2 separate regions of the Homo sapiens genome follow, and region 2 is linked to region 1. Evidence: promoter capture Hi-C in 16 types of primary human blood cells and fetal thymus (Javierre and others, 2016). All regions are on one chromosome and are shown on one strand. Each heading gives the region's core, a stretch centred on a gene start or on the middle of the fragment in contact. The rest is flanking DNA. Distances are from core to core; before and after follow the strand shown.

Evidence for each region. Contacts are between HindIII fragments. The CHiCAGO score rates a contact against its expected background, and 5 or more counts as called.
Region 2: a fragment that was not itself captured here is called in contact with the fragment with the promoter of RNFT2 in region 1 in 1 of 17 cell types (monocytes); the score reaches 5.0 in monocytes.

The regions. Positions count from the first base shown.
Region 1 is chr12:116,734,852-116,740,950 of GRCh38, forward strand. RNFT2 (ring finger protein, transmembrane 2) reads left to right here and starts at 3,464. Exons shown (of 11, transcript NM_001382266.1): 1 at 3,464-3,519; 2 at 5,494-5,670. The coding sequence starts at 5,647. SPRING1 (SREBF pathway regulator in golgi 1) reads right to left here and starts at 3,218. Exons shown (of 5, transcript NM_024738.4): 1 at 2,939-3,218. The coding sequence starts at 3,049. RefSeq lists enhancers at 1,760-2,718, 3,487-3,746 and silencers at 2,907-2,956, 3,037-3,296. The HindIII fragment of the contact is 21,202 bases long and covers 1-6,099 here.
Region 2 is chr12:116,123,789-116,130,422 of GRCh38, forward strand. The region is part of intron 2 of MED13L (mediator complex subunit 13L); the gene reads right to left. Among named protein-coding and RNA genes, the nearest start is that of MIR620, 22 kb to the right of the region's middle. The HindIII fragment of the contact is 2,145 bases long and covers 1,777-3,921 here.

The sequences.
Region 1 (6,099 bases), core at 2,214-4,713:
CAGAGATCCTGGAAGACAATCCAGAGTTTTATCTGAGAATTTTACCTGGGGAAATGCCATGATGATCCCATCTTTTTAAAGATTATCACCCCTACTGCGGGGAAGAGAAGAAGACAAGAATGGAAGCAGAGACTTGCAGCTGGGCTACTGCAGTGGTCCAGACGAGAGATGCCAGTGGCTTGGCCTAGAGTGACAGCAGTGACACTCTGAAGAAATGAGCAGATTCAGGATACACTCTGGAGGCAGAGCCAATATTGTGGATATAGGGAGTGAGAGGAGAAAAAAAGAATGAAGTGGCTTTAATACCTGGTGAACAGTAATGCCACTGAGCGAGACTGGGAAGACTCGGGGAGGAACAAGTGCTGGCAGAGAATCAAGAGTTCTGTTGGTCCAAACACGAACACATTCAACGTCAACTAGAAAGTAGGAGGGTGGTTGCCGGGGGCTGGGGAAAGGGAGAAATGGAGAGTTATTGTTAAATGAATATTAAGTTTCAGTTTCTACAAGCGTTATGGGGATGGATGGTGGTGATGGTCGCACAGCGTTAAGGATGTATTTAATACCACTGAACTGCACACTTTAAAAATGGTTAAGATGGGGCCGGGCGTGGTGGCTGACACCTGTAATCCCAGCACTTTGGGAGGCCGAGGCAGGTGGATCACTTGAGGTCAGGAGTTCGAGACCAGCCTGGCCAACATGGCGAAACCCTGTCTCTATTAAAAATACAAAAATTAGTCGGGTGTGGTGGTGCATGCCTGTAATCCCAGCTACTCAGGAGGCTAAGGCAGGGAGAACTGCTTGAACCCGAGAGGTAGAGGTTGCAGTGAGCTGAGATCATGCCACTACACTCCAGCCTGGGTAACAGAGTGAGACTCCATGTTAAAAAAGGTTAAGATGGGAAATTCTGGCCAGGCGTGGTGGCTCACACCTGTAATCCCAGCACTTTGGGAGGCTGAGGTGGGTGGATCACCTGAGGTCGGGAGTTCAAGACCAGCCATGACCAACATGGAGAAACCCCGTTTCTACTAAAAATACAAAATTAGCTGGGCATGGTGGCGCATGCCTGTAATCCCAGCTACTCAAGAAGGCTGAGGCAGGAGAATCATTTGAACCCGGGAGGTGGAGGCTGTGGTGAGTTGAGGTCGTCCCACTGCACTCCAGCCTGGGCAAGAGCAAAACTCAGTCTTTAAAAAAAAAAAAAAAAAAAAAAAAAAAAGATGGGAAATTTTATGTCGTATTTTACCACAATAAAAAAAAATTGAAAAAAAAAAAAGATATCAACTAGGCAATTGGATATAAGAATTTGGGGATTTCTGGACAGATCTAGGCTGTTGTTATCAACTACTGGCATCAACAGCATACCTCCAGAGATCACCTGAGTATTTAAACAATGGCCCAGAGATTACCTGAGTCAGATAGAGAGGAAGGCAGAGGACGGAGTCCTGGCGCACCCCACCACTCAGGGGTCACAAGACAGAGAAGGGACAACACGCGACTGTGAGGAGGTGTCTGAGGTGGCAGAAAACACAAGTCACAGAAGTCTGGTAGTCACATGATTGCCCAGACATCCCGGCCAATAAAAGGGACTTACAACACTCAGCCTCTCTGTTTGCCTAAGGTGGCAGGTCACGTACAATTCCCTATTCTTCCCTTTTCACAGCTCCCCTGCCAATCCACTAAATGTAGAGTGACCACATAGTTTTATCAATGTTCTATTCACTTATATATTTTATTTACACACTTGAGCTTTGAGAGTAAAAAGGAGAGCTTTTTATAACCATGTCAGGACAACAGCATAACCCATTATCCTGGGTGCACCCTGGGGTGTAACCACCCTTTCTACACAACTAAGCACTCAACCTGGACTTCTAGACAAACTTATTAATGCTTTGGGTAAGATTTCCCCACCCGTGCTCCTTGCTGTTTCTCCCAGAAATTCTCACATGGAAGAAAAATGAAAGGGTGCAGTGTGTTGGAGGGGTGGAATTCTACCAATCAAGTTATGCACAAAAAGCATAAAAGGAACTGTGGGTCCTTTTGAGTCACCCAGGAGGACACAGAGCCCCCAAATTAAACGAAGGGCACCCATGCGAGGGCTGGCCGACCCTCGCCACCTATGTCTTGGTTTCCCCCACTGTAATACTGGGAACCCCACTTCTCCCAGGCCTGCTGCGAAGATGAAGCCAGCAAATGCACGCCCTCTCTTAGCTCTGGACCGGGCAGGTGAAAAGCAGGGAGGTGTTCATAAAAGCAGTCCCCACCGCTGAAGGGTCCTCAACTCGGGGTTCTAGTCCCAGCTCTGCCCTGGCCTAGCAACCCCTTCCCGCTGCAGGGACCAAGGCGGTGGGCAGGTCCCTCACCCGTGCTGAGACCGGGACAGGAATGCGCACCTCTCCCCACCCTCGGACGCCCCGGCGGCGCCGCTGCAGAAGTCGGGAGGTCGGACAAACGCGAGGAGTAAGGAAAAAGAGGAGGAAGGGAAGGAAGGAGGAAGAACGAAGTGAGGAAAGAGGATGTCAGGGAAGAAAGGGAGTAAAGGAAGAAGGAAGGGAGAGGGGGACAGAAAGGAGGAGGACGGAAGGAGGAAGGGAAGGAAGAAAGACGGAAGGGAAGGGAGAGGAAAAAGGGGAGGAAAGAAGAAAGGGAAGGGGGAGGAAGGAAAGGGGGAGGAAGGAAGGAGGAGGAAGGTGAGGAAGGTAAGGAAGGAAGGGAGGCAGGGAGAGGGGAAGGAAGGAGGAAGATAAGGAAGGAGGGGAGGTAGGAAGAAGGGAAGGAAGGAGGAAGGAAGGGAAGGGGAGAAAGAAAGGAAGGGAAGGGGTAGGAAGACAGGGAGGAAGGAAAAAAGGAGGAAGGTAACGAAGGAAGGAAGGAGAAAGTAAAGTAAGGGGGAGGAAGGAAGGAAGAAGGGAAGGGGAGGAGGGGAAGGGCGGCCACTGACCTGCTTGAAGGTGCTGCTGAGGAAGTAGACGAGCGACAGCCCGAAGACCAGGGCGAGCACCCACCTCTTCCGCAGAAGCCGGCGCCACACCATGGCCGCCAGGTTCACCATCCCGGCGCGGACGTGGGGCGCGGCGGCCGGGGCGCGGAACGCGGCAGGCCCGGGTCCCGGGCGGCATGGCCCCTACGCGCCCGGCAGCCCCATCCCTCCAGGCAGGCGCCGGCCCCGCCGCCCGCAGCCCAGTCTGCTCCCGGCAGCCTTGGGCGCAGCCCCACGTGACCCCGCCCTACGCCCCGCCTCCGCTCCGCAGCGACAAGGGCTAGTCGCGCAAGATCTTCTCACCATTGGTCCCTAAGGAACGGCGGCCTCCTATTGGTTAAGTGCCGGGAAAGGGGGCGGACAATCGCGTGAGTGCTGCGGGCGTAGCTGTGCCCGGGTCCTAGCGCCGGACCCGGCGACGCCAAGAAACCACCCAATAGGAGGCCGGAAGCATCGGAAGTCACATGCTGCCCAGGCTGCGCGGGTGATTGGCTTGGCTGGACCTGAATGATGCGGCTGTGATTGCTGAATTGTCTGGGCAGGTAAAAAGAGAACGCGATTTTTTTTTCTTTTCTCCCATCATGGTCTGTGTAGTCTCCTGCCCTTGCAGTCCCAGAGCGTTTTGCGCTGTGTGTTGGTTGCAGGGATGAAAAGCGCTCGCGACGTTGTTCCCGAAGTGCACCTGCCGGCTTCCAGTCCAAGTGATGCAGGCGATGCTCCTCTGAGTGCATTTCGGTGCAGTCCTGTAACGGGCCCCAGGGGCGCAACTTGAACCATCGCAAGCATCGAAAAGTCTCGGTGCGGTCCTTCAAAGGGACATAGTGGGATGTACAGAGCAGAGGATTAAAAAGCGTTTCATTCATTCAGATGCATCCCGCGTGCAAAAATTTATTCCAGAATTATGTACGGCCTGCTTCCGACAAAGAATCCGAAGCCTCTTCCAATACAAGCATCCGAAAGTAGAGTTTCGAGCATTCGATTTAGGAGTTAAATGTGTGGATGAGAACTTTGGAATATGAATTTTATTTTCCCCCAAGGATTTGCAATGTGGGATAATGGAGGGAGGGGCGAGAGGAGGATTAAGTTGAGATTGCAAATTCTTGAAAAATATTTATATAATGACCTTTTCTTGATATATGAAGATGCTGCTGCTGACCGGTTTGTTACCTAATTTTTCAAAAGAGAAAGGAGGCTTCACTGGCGGGTCATTTTTAATCAGTGGCCCTAGTGACACCATTGCTGCCCCCTCAAGAAGCCTGGTCAGGATTAGGAAGTCATTCAACAGCCAATAATCGTGCCCTAAACTGAAGTCAGACACCATCTGACTGATATAGACACCCTATATCCACAATATTGGCTCTGCCTCCAGAGACAAGAAGATATTCACGGAGGCTAAACCTTTTCATGGGAAGTAGATGGCCCTTATTACCTTGCTAGGGTGAAAGGTGGGACAGGGAGCAAGGGATCTAGAAAAGGGGAACTGGGAGACCCATAGATGTTTTATTCATTGAGTAAATACTTGTTGAGCGCCACTCTGTGCCAAACAGTGTCCTGGATGCTGAGGCAGAGGGGTGATCCAAGTAGACAGGATCCCTACTTTCAGGAATGGCATTTATATTCTAATGGGGAGGACAAATCATAAATAAATAAGCAAACATGAACAAATAAGTGCTATGAATAATATAAAACAGGGCAATATTACGGGGAGTCAGGAGAATGAGAAGAGAAGGCCTCTGGGAAGAGACGACATTTGCCCTGCGGGACCAAGCCCTGCCACATTTAGAGGAGAAAGTATTCCAAGGGGAGGGCACAGCAAGTGCAAAGGCCCTGAGGCAGGGACACGCTGACACATTAGAGGAACAGAAGGGCCACTGTGGGTGGACAGGAGTGGGAAAAGGGAGAATGGGAGGAAATGCAGTTGGAAACAGATGATGCTACATCAGGAAGAACCCGTAGGCTATGGACAGAGCTCGGGTTTGATTCTGATTGCACTGGGCAGCCGTTGGAGGGTTTAAAACATATTTTCTGGCTTCCCCAATCAGGACTCTTAGTTTGACAATAGGATGAAATACAATACCTTAAGAGTTTCAAAGAGGGCCGGGCATGGTGGCTTATGCCTGTAATCCCAGCACTTTGGGAGGCCAAGGCAGGCGGATCACTTGAGGTCAGAAGTTTGAGACCAGCCTGGCCAATATGGTGAAATCCCATCTCTACTAAAAATACAAAAATTGGGTGGGCGTGGTGTCGCATGCCTGTAAGCCTGTAATTTCAGCCACTCAGGAGGCTGAGGCAGGAGAATCGCTTGAACCTGGGAGGCAGAGGTTGCAGTGAGCCAAGATCGCACCACTCCGTCTTAAAAAAAAAAAAGGAGTTTCAAGGGGGGATCACTGAGAGGCTACCCAGAGATACTGAGCAGATGGAATCATCTGCTTATAGCTACCAACAATGTCCTAAGGCTTCTTAGCAGATTCAAGGTATCGCAGGGACTGTTCATCCAGGTGTTCTGTTCCATCCAGGTTTGGAGTCTCTGGCAAGCTCCCCTGACTGTGCATCCCTCTGGAGACGAAGAGGAGGGGGAGGCCTGTCCTCTCTGGGATCCATTGGTCACATCCCCCTGAGGATTCCCGAATGCCTACCTCCAGTGTCGTCAACATGGAGTTCTGAAGTCCATGTGGCTCTTCACAGTGAATCAGGTGACACGTCTCCAAGAGAATTTGCATCTTTATTACTACTTGATTAAATGTGAGAGCTGGAAGGAAGTTTTGGTTTGACCACTCCACCCCTCCCATGTAACACATGGGGAATCTGAACCCACAGAGGGGTTACTGATTTGTCTAGGGTCACAGCAAGTTAGCAGCAGCATCAACCCAGAATCCATGTCTCCTGCCAGTCCGCTGCCCACTTCACTTCATCCAGCACCTCTTGGCTGCACAGTTTACCGCGTTATCCTCTCACATGAGGACTTTCTCCACCTCTGAGTCTCATCGTCCTCCTCTGTGAAATGGGGTGATAGCTTTCCTCATGGGATAGAATGTCACATTGAGGATGGAATGGCATGAAAGATTGAAACATACTTTGGAAAATGCCAGAGAGCACTAGGGGTCTAAGATACGACTAGTGCA
Region 2 (6,634 bases), core at 1,599-4,098, 610 kb before region 1:
GAGCATTTTACAGGAGGCTTAGCCCTGGCTGAGGGCACTCTACGGCGTGACCGAGAGAACATGGAAACACGATTCATTAGACACGCCTGGAGTGATAACAATGGTGCTGCTTCTTACTGCCTTTCATTTCGTACATCAGGCTGAGACTAATGCATTCTCGTTACACAACAAGCACATTTATAGACAGGGGAAAACTGTAATCACCTTTGATTAAGAGACAGCATATTTTTCCTATATGAGCTGCCAGCCATACTGACATAGTAATTATTTTTTAACTGACAGGTTAAAATAGCAAATGTAGCAAAAATAACATCTGCAGAGAGAGAGAGAAAGACGAGAGAGAGAGAGAGAGAGAGAGAGAGACAGAGACAGAGAGAGACAGAGAGAGACAGAGAGAGACAGAGACTGACTGACTACTGTGAAGACTTGGTGCACAAAGGTTTCTTTAGACCAAACTCAGTGCCATCTCCTTGAGACCTGATGGGTACCTTGGCTTTTATTTCAGCTTGACAGTCTATGGCAAATATTGCAGAAAGACTCTTACAGAAATTCATTCTATAAATCCAATTTTTTGGAGGCAGAAATTACAAAATTATTTTTGTCACTGAAACAGTAATGACTATTGGTCTACCTTCTTTCCACTTCTTTCACTATAGGACTAGAAAATTCAACAGTAGTATCCTTTTTTCCATTATCTTACAACAAAATAATTTGTTCTCTTCACTTTGTTATCTACTTTTACTAGATAATAATTTGTTTTCCTTAATATAAAATGCTACTCCAAGACAGAAAAAAAACTGCTTTCTACTATACCACAGTTTATAAAATGTAACTTTGGTTAAAAACAAGAATGTAGAATAATTAGATCAGTCTATCATTTCACTTAACGCCCATCAATCCCTGCACCTGGTGAAGGTTTTAACTGTAAATATAAAGGCCCTAATTTAAATTAGAAAAAAGTCATAAGCCACATTATACTGACAACATATAAAGTCAGTTTTCTTAAGGAATTTTAAAAAGTGAACCACCTTTCCATACACACAAATGCAATCTTCTGTTGGTTTACACATGTGTGTTGCTGGGTTGTAGTTTATAGAGAATTTGGTAGTTGACAGGAAAAAAATATTTGTCATAAATTGAAAGATCATAGTTAAACCAAAATATTGGAAAATACTTTTTCAAAGTTAGCAGTCTGTACAATTAAGCAATTAAAAAGTCTCTTTTTTAAGCTTTCTACAACACTATTGATTTTTACACTAAGAATGTGCTACAAAATAAAACAATTTGCACATGTGAAAATTTGTTAAGACAGAAAAGAAAACTAACCAATAATAAAAAAAAGTTAAGTCTGGTTCACAAAACTTTGAAACCTGTAATAGCTTTTCAAAAAATAATTATGTAGCCAGGCAATGTGGCAGGAGCCCATAATCCCAGCTATTCAGGCTGCTGAGGTGGGAGGACACATGAGCCCGGAAATTCAAGGCCAGCCTGGGCACTACAGTGTGATCCCATCTCAATCAATCAATCAATCAATGCAAACGGTTATGTACATACAACAAACAAATTTTTGTAAAACAGCAAAATGCTTTAATAATTTTAAATAGTAGGATTTTAGAGTTTTCTGACCTGTGCTACCACAGCAGGTTAGAAACTAGAAAATGTGTAGCCTAACTCTGATATGTCTATAAATGGACCACTGAACACTAATGTGCACTTAAACACAGTGTATTTTGAAGAGAAGTTTTTATGTGTCCCACACAATTTTAGAATTACACAAGCTTAAAATTTTCATCATCTGAAATCAAACAATGAGTCTTATTACAGAAGATAACATCTATACAATTTCTACTGTCGGTGCCCAATCCATGTCTCTCTTATTTTGGTTTTCTGTACTGTGTGAAGTCATGACTCCCCCAAAACTAATCAAATTACTTCTGCATACTTTCCCTGTTTGTCTTCTTTTTGGAAAAGACAAAGTTAATCATCAGTATAAAACATGTCACCACACATTAAAAATTTTTATTTTAAAAACATTTCAGTTTAAATGTATTCTTAGTAATCAGAACATTTTACTTTCATAAACAACTATGGTTTACATATGAATTTCTGTTACAATTATCTGGCTCTTAATAGAATCACAAATTATTATTCTCAACTTTTAAAAGACAGAATGTACAATTCTCCCCTTGTGTCTTCAAAATTAATTTGTTTATGAATGCAAAAACAACCTATTGGAAAGCAATAAAAGTTTCTCAAAACTTTTAAGTTAAAATATATCCAGGAAAAGTTGTCATTATCCAAAACTTAAGCCAAGAAGTTTCCAACTCATAAGCAAAAAATTTATAAATGACCTAAACACACCAACACTGCCAATATTTTTACTTCATGTTGGTGTTTCAACTCTACAAGATTCCTTTGCATTAACAAGTCAATATGAAAACTGCAAGTCCTTTAGGAAATAAAGGTCAGTTATTTACAGTCGCAGTGGTGTGAATGAGTTCAATCCTATGTTCTTTCGAAATCTGGCTAGAATGGCATTTTGGTTGCAAAGTTAAGTAACACCGTTGTTTTGGATAGGGCACAGTCTGGAGTAGGGCAGGCCTGGGCGGCTCCCATAACACAAGGTGCAGTGGTTTCTTCCTGTGGTCCTTGGAGTACTAGAGTCCTGTGCAAGAGCCCCAGTGAGTCCCTCTGGCCCTTTCCATCTCCAGTCTCAACCAGGACAGCTGCAGTTTTATCCAGTTGTAGTTTTAGCCATTATAACTTAGGAAGTTCTACAGAGAGCTCACTTGAAAAGGTATTACAAATAAATACAAAGAGTTTGCAAAGAGGATAGAATTTGCAAATTACCAGAAAAGTTGAAAGAATAAATCAAACCAAAAACCCAAAAAGCCTGAGCCACTGGGCAATGCTAACACTTCACTGGCTCTGTTGCTTCTTTTATAGTTATCTTTACTTTCTTTGAGATTCTTTCCCACTCATATTGCATAATTCTAACAAACTGCACTAGAATGTGGGAAAGCCTTCCAAGACAGATTCTGAGGATTTTAAATGTTTATAAAGTGAAGTCCTAACCAATCTACCCCTTCTAGTTACAAAACCCAGGACCCAAACCAACACTGGTCAAGCATTACAGACTAAATCAGTTTGATAGGCAGGCCTTAGAATCTACCCACCATTCAGAATAGATTTTTCATAGGTTAAAAAATATATATATTTTCCAAATAATTAACTTACAAATTATCTTTTGAAACATAGGCTATCAATAGTTTGTCAACTGGTGCTTGAGTATATTAATTCTTCTTTCCATAGTTTAAATACCAGCTATTAAAAAGCATAACAATAAAAGTTACTTTATCACTTTAAAAGACAGAGTTTTGATAGTGATGGAGCTCTCAGAAAGATTTTTGGTTGCCTGTAGTATTTCTTGGGAGCTATATTAGATCTGTTATATAATAATTCATTTCTTTTGTATGAAATTTTGTTTGTTATAACTCATAATTTAAAAACATTTTTTCAATTCCGATTCAAAAACGAAAAATACATATGAGATAATAGGTTAAAAGTTCAACTGTATATACATCATGATCTCAACTTTTCAGATGTGTGCTTAAATATCTGTAATGGAATAAACAAAAATTATAATTACTATAAATCTTTACCCAAACTTTTTATACTAAATTTTAAATATAAGTACCCCTATGTAGTCCGTTAAACAGTTACTACTCTAACTAAAATATAGATATATTCAAAGGCAATATTACCCACTCAGAATAACTCAGCAGTTCAGATGATAAAGAAAATAACCTAAAGAAACAGTAAACATAAAACAGCTGTTTGGACAGAAGATATACTAACACTTTGTAAAGTACAGAAATTGTCATCCCGTTTCTTTTACAATCCAGCTTCATCAAGAAGCAAAGCTTTTTAAACTAGTCTCCCTGCTTTCACTCAAAGCACCTGAAGTCCATTATTCATGAGAGCCAAAGTAATCTTTTTCAAACCTTAAGTCACATCGTAGCATCCTGCCTCTTAAAGCCTTATTTTAATGGCTTCTCATGGAATTAATAATCTATTTAATAAGCTCCTTACCATGGCCTACAAGGCTCCACCTGATCAAACCTCTGTCTACCTCTTCCAACACCCTCTGTGTACTCATTTCAACAGCACTGGCCTTCTTTTTTCCAACAAAGTGAGCTCAAGACATCTGACTTCCTTTTCCTGTATCTGGCTGTCTCCTCCAAGCGGCATTCCCTACCTGACCCTCTAATGGAAAGTAGTCCTGTCCCAGTCAGTCACTTTCTCATCTATTGCTTTGTAGCAGACAACTGTAAGAAATTATTCATTTACTACTTGTCTTCTCACCCACAAAGAAGAATGTCAGCACGATATGTACAAGGGCAATGTCAATCCTTGTGTGCTTACTATACTGCAAAGAACCTTCCACAGAGAAAAACATTGTGACCCTGAGGAAAACATTCAAAGTGGAGCAAAATGCAACCTAATATGATTCTAAGGATTTTTATACTACGCAAAATAGCCAAACAGACACGTTTATAAAAGGCTTAGCTTTTCTTCCTACTGACAATTGAAGGCTCTTACTTGAACCCTTGATAATCAACAAGATTAGAATGACTAATGAAGGGTATTCTTGAGGAAAAAAAAAAACAAGAAAATAAATTAAAATACCACAATAAACTCACAATGTAAAGTAGTTACTGTCATGAAGTGGGTCTCCTAAGAGTTTAATGTTTTAAAATCAGGCAACTTTAACTTATAAAACTTCTATCCCAATAAGAAACATTTAGAAATGGAATTAACTCTTTATTCTCTTTCCTATGCATAATTCATTCTACTTATCAACTCTATAGGCTATTACTACAGATGATAGCTCTTAATCACTATAAATTTACAATGTCCTATCAGTCGTGTTCATTATATCTGAAATAACAAAATAAAGTTACACAGTTATGGAGTGATATTAAATTAAATTCATATTACATATTGATGTAAGTGCATGTAAACAAGAATAGGGCATATGTGTTCCATGTTCCATTCTATTAGGTACAATGAGCTAAGGTCCCTACAGTATTTATCATAAGCCACATCTACAAAGGTTGAGGAATCTTTTATTTTCCCTTGAAGAATGAGGGGGAACATAATGCAAAAAAAAATAAAAGTGGAAAAATGCTGTAGCAGCATTTTTGTGGACGTTTTAGTAATTTTATATTATTTTCTTCCTGGAAAATCAGCTTCCATATAATTATTCTCAAGTATCTCTGGCTTATTCATACACCATATTTTTGTGATTGTTTCTCACCAATTTTTAAAACAGAATTATTTTTAATAAAGTATAACTCAAGGCTGGGCATGGTGGCTCATGCCTGTAATCCCAGCACTTTGGGAGGCCGAGGCAGGTGGATAAAAATATTTATCATCTATTTGAGGATAACCCAAATATTATACTCTGAGACAGATTACTAAAAATCCCATTTTCAGGAGAGTTATTAAAATGAAGGTGAAGAGAGAAGAAACTGAAATACAATGGCTCTTTTAAATCAGCTAGACAACTATTCACTATTCGTATTCATTTTGTATCCTTCAGTCTAGAAAAAGCAAGGCCCTTTTTAACTTTCAATTAGTCATACACTGTCCTGTTTATTTTTTCTCTAGCCATTTTGCCCCTTTGGAGGTGAACGTAAATTAAATCAAAGACATATAACACACAGACACTAATTTGGGAGTGGATTTTTGCCTACCCAAACCAGACATTACGCCTTGGCAAGGGAGCAGCTCTGTATAAATAAGACTATTCACAAGATAGAAATGATCAGCACAGGCCGGGCACGGTGGCTCACGCCTGTAATCCCAGCACTCTGGGAGGCCAAGGTGGGCGGATCACCCAAGGTCAGGAGTTCGAGACCAGCCTGGCCAACATAGTGAAACCCCATCTCTACTAAAAATACAAAAATTAGCTGTACATGGTGGCGCGTGCCTGTAGTCTCAGCTACTCTGGAGGCTGAGGCAGGAGAATCACTTGAAACAGGGAGGTGGAGGTTGTAGTGAGCCGAGATCGTGCCACGGCACTCCAGCCTGGGCAACAGAGTGAGACTCAGTCTCAAAAAAAAAAAAAAGAAAGAAAGAAAGAAAGAAAGAATGAAATGATCAGCACATATCCATTTACCTCAAGAGTAGTCACCAAAACTTCAAAGTGCCATTAAGAACAGCATCAATGCTTTTGTCTAAAAGATCTCAGAGGCTCTATAACAGACCCTTGATATCATAAACATTCATGACTTTCCAGGAAACCAACAGGTTTCTTAAACTCACAAAAAACTGCCTAAACATTTTTGATTAACTATGAAAATCATACTCTCCTTTGAAAGTGATCATACTTGTATAAATTTAAGAAAAAAAATCTTGGCCACACTGGAATAACATAAAAATGTTTTATACTTGCTTTACTTTAGTTCAGGTTAAGAATGACTATTTTAAAAATAAAACTCTCCAGATTGTGCAGCTTCAATTTTCCACTGCTCATTTTCTATGACAATCTGACCAAGAATTCCCCACAGCCACCCGCTAGGAGGGGAAAGAAAAGCTGATACCCTAAAACCTCATTCAAGAAAAATAA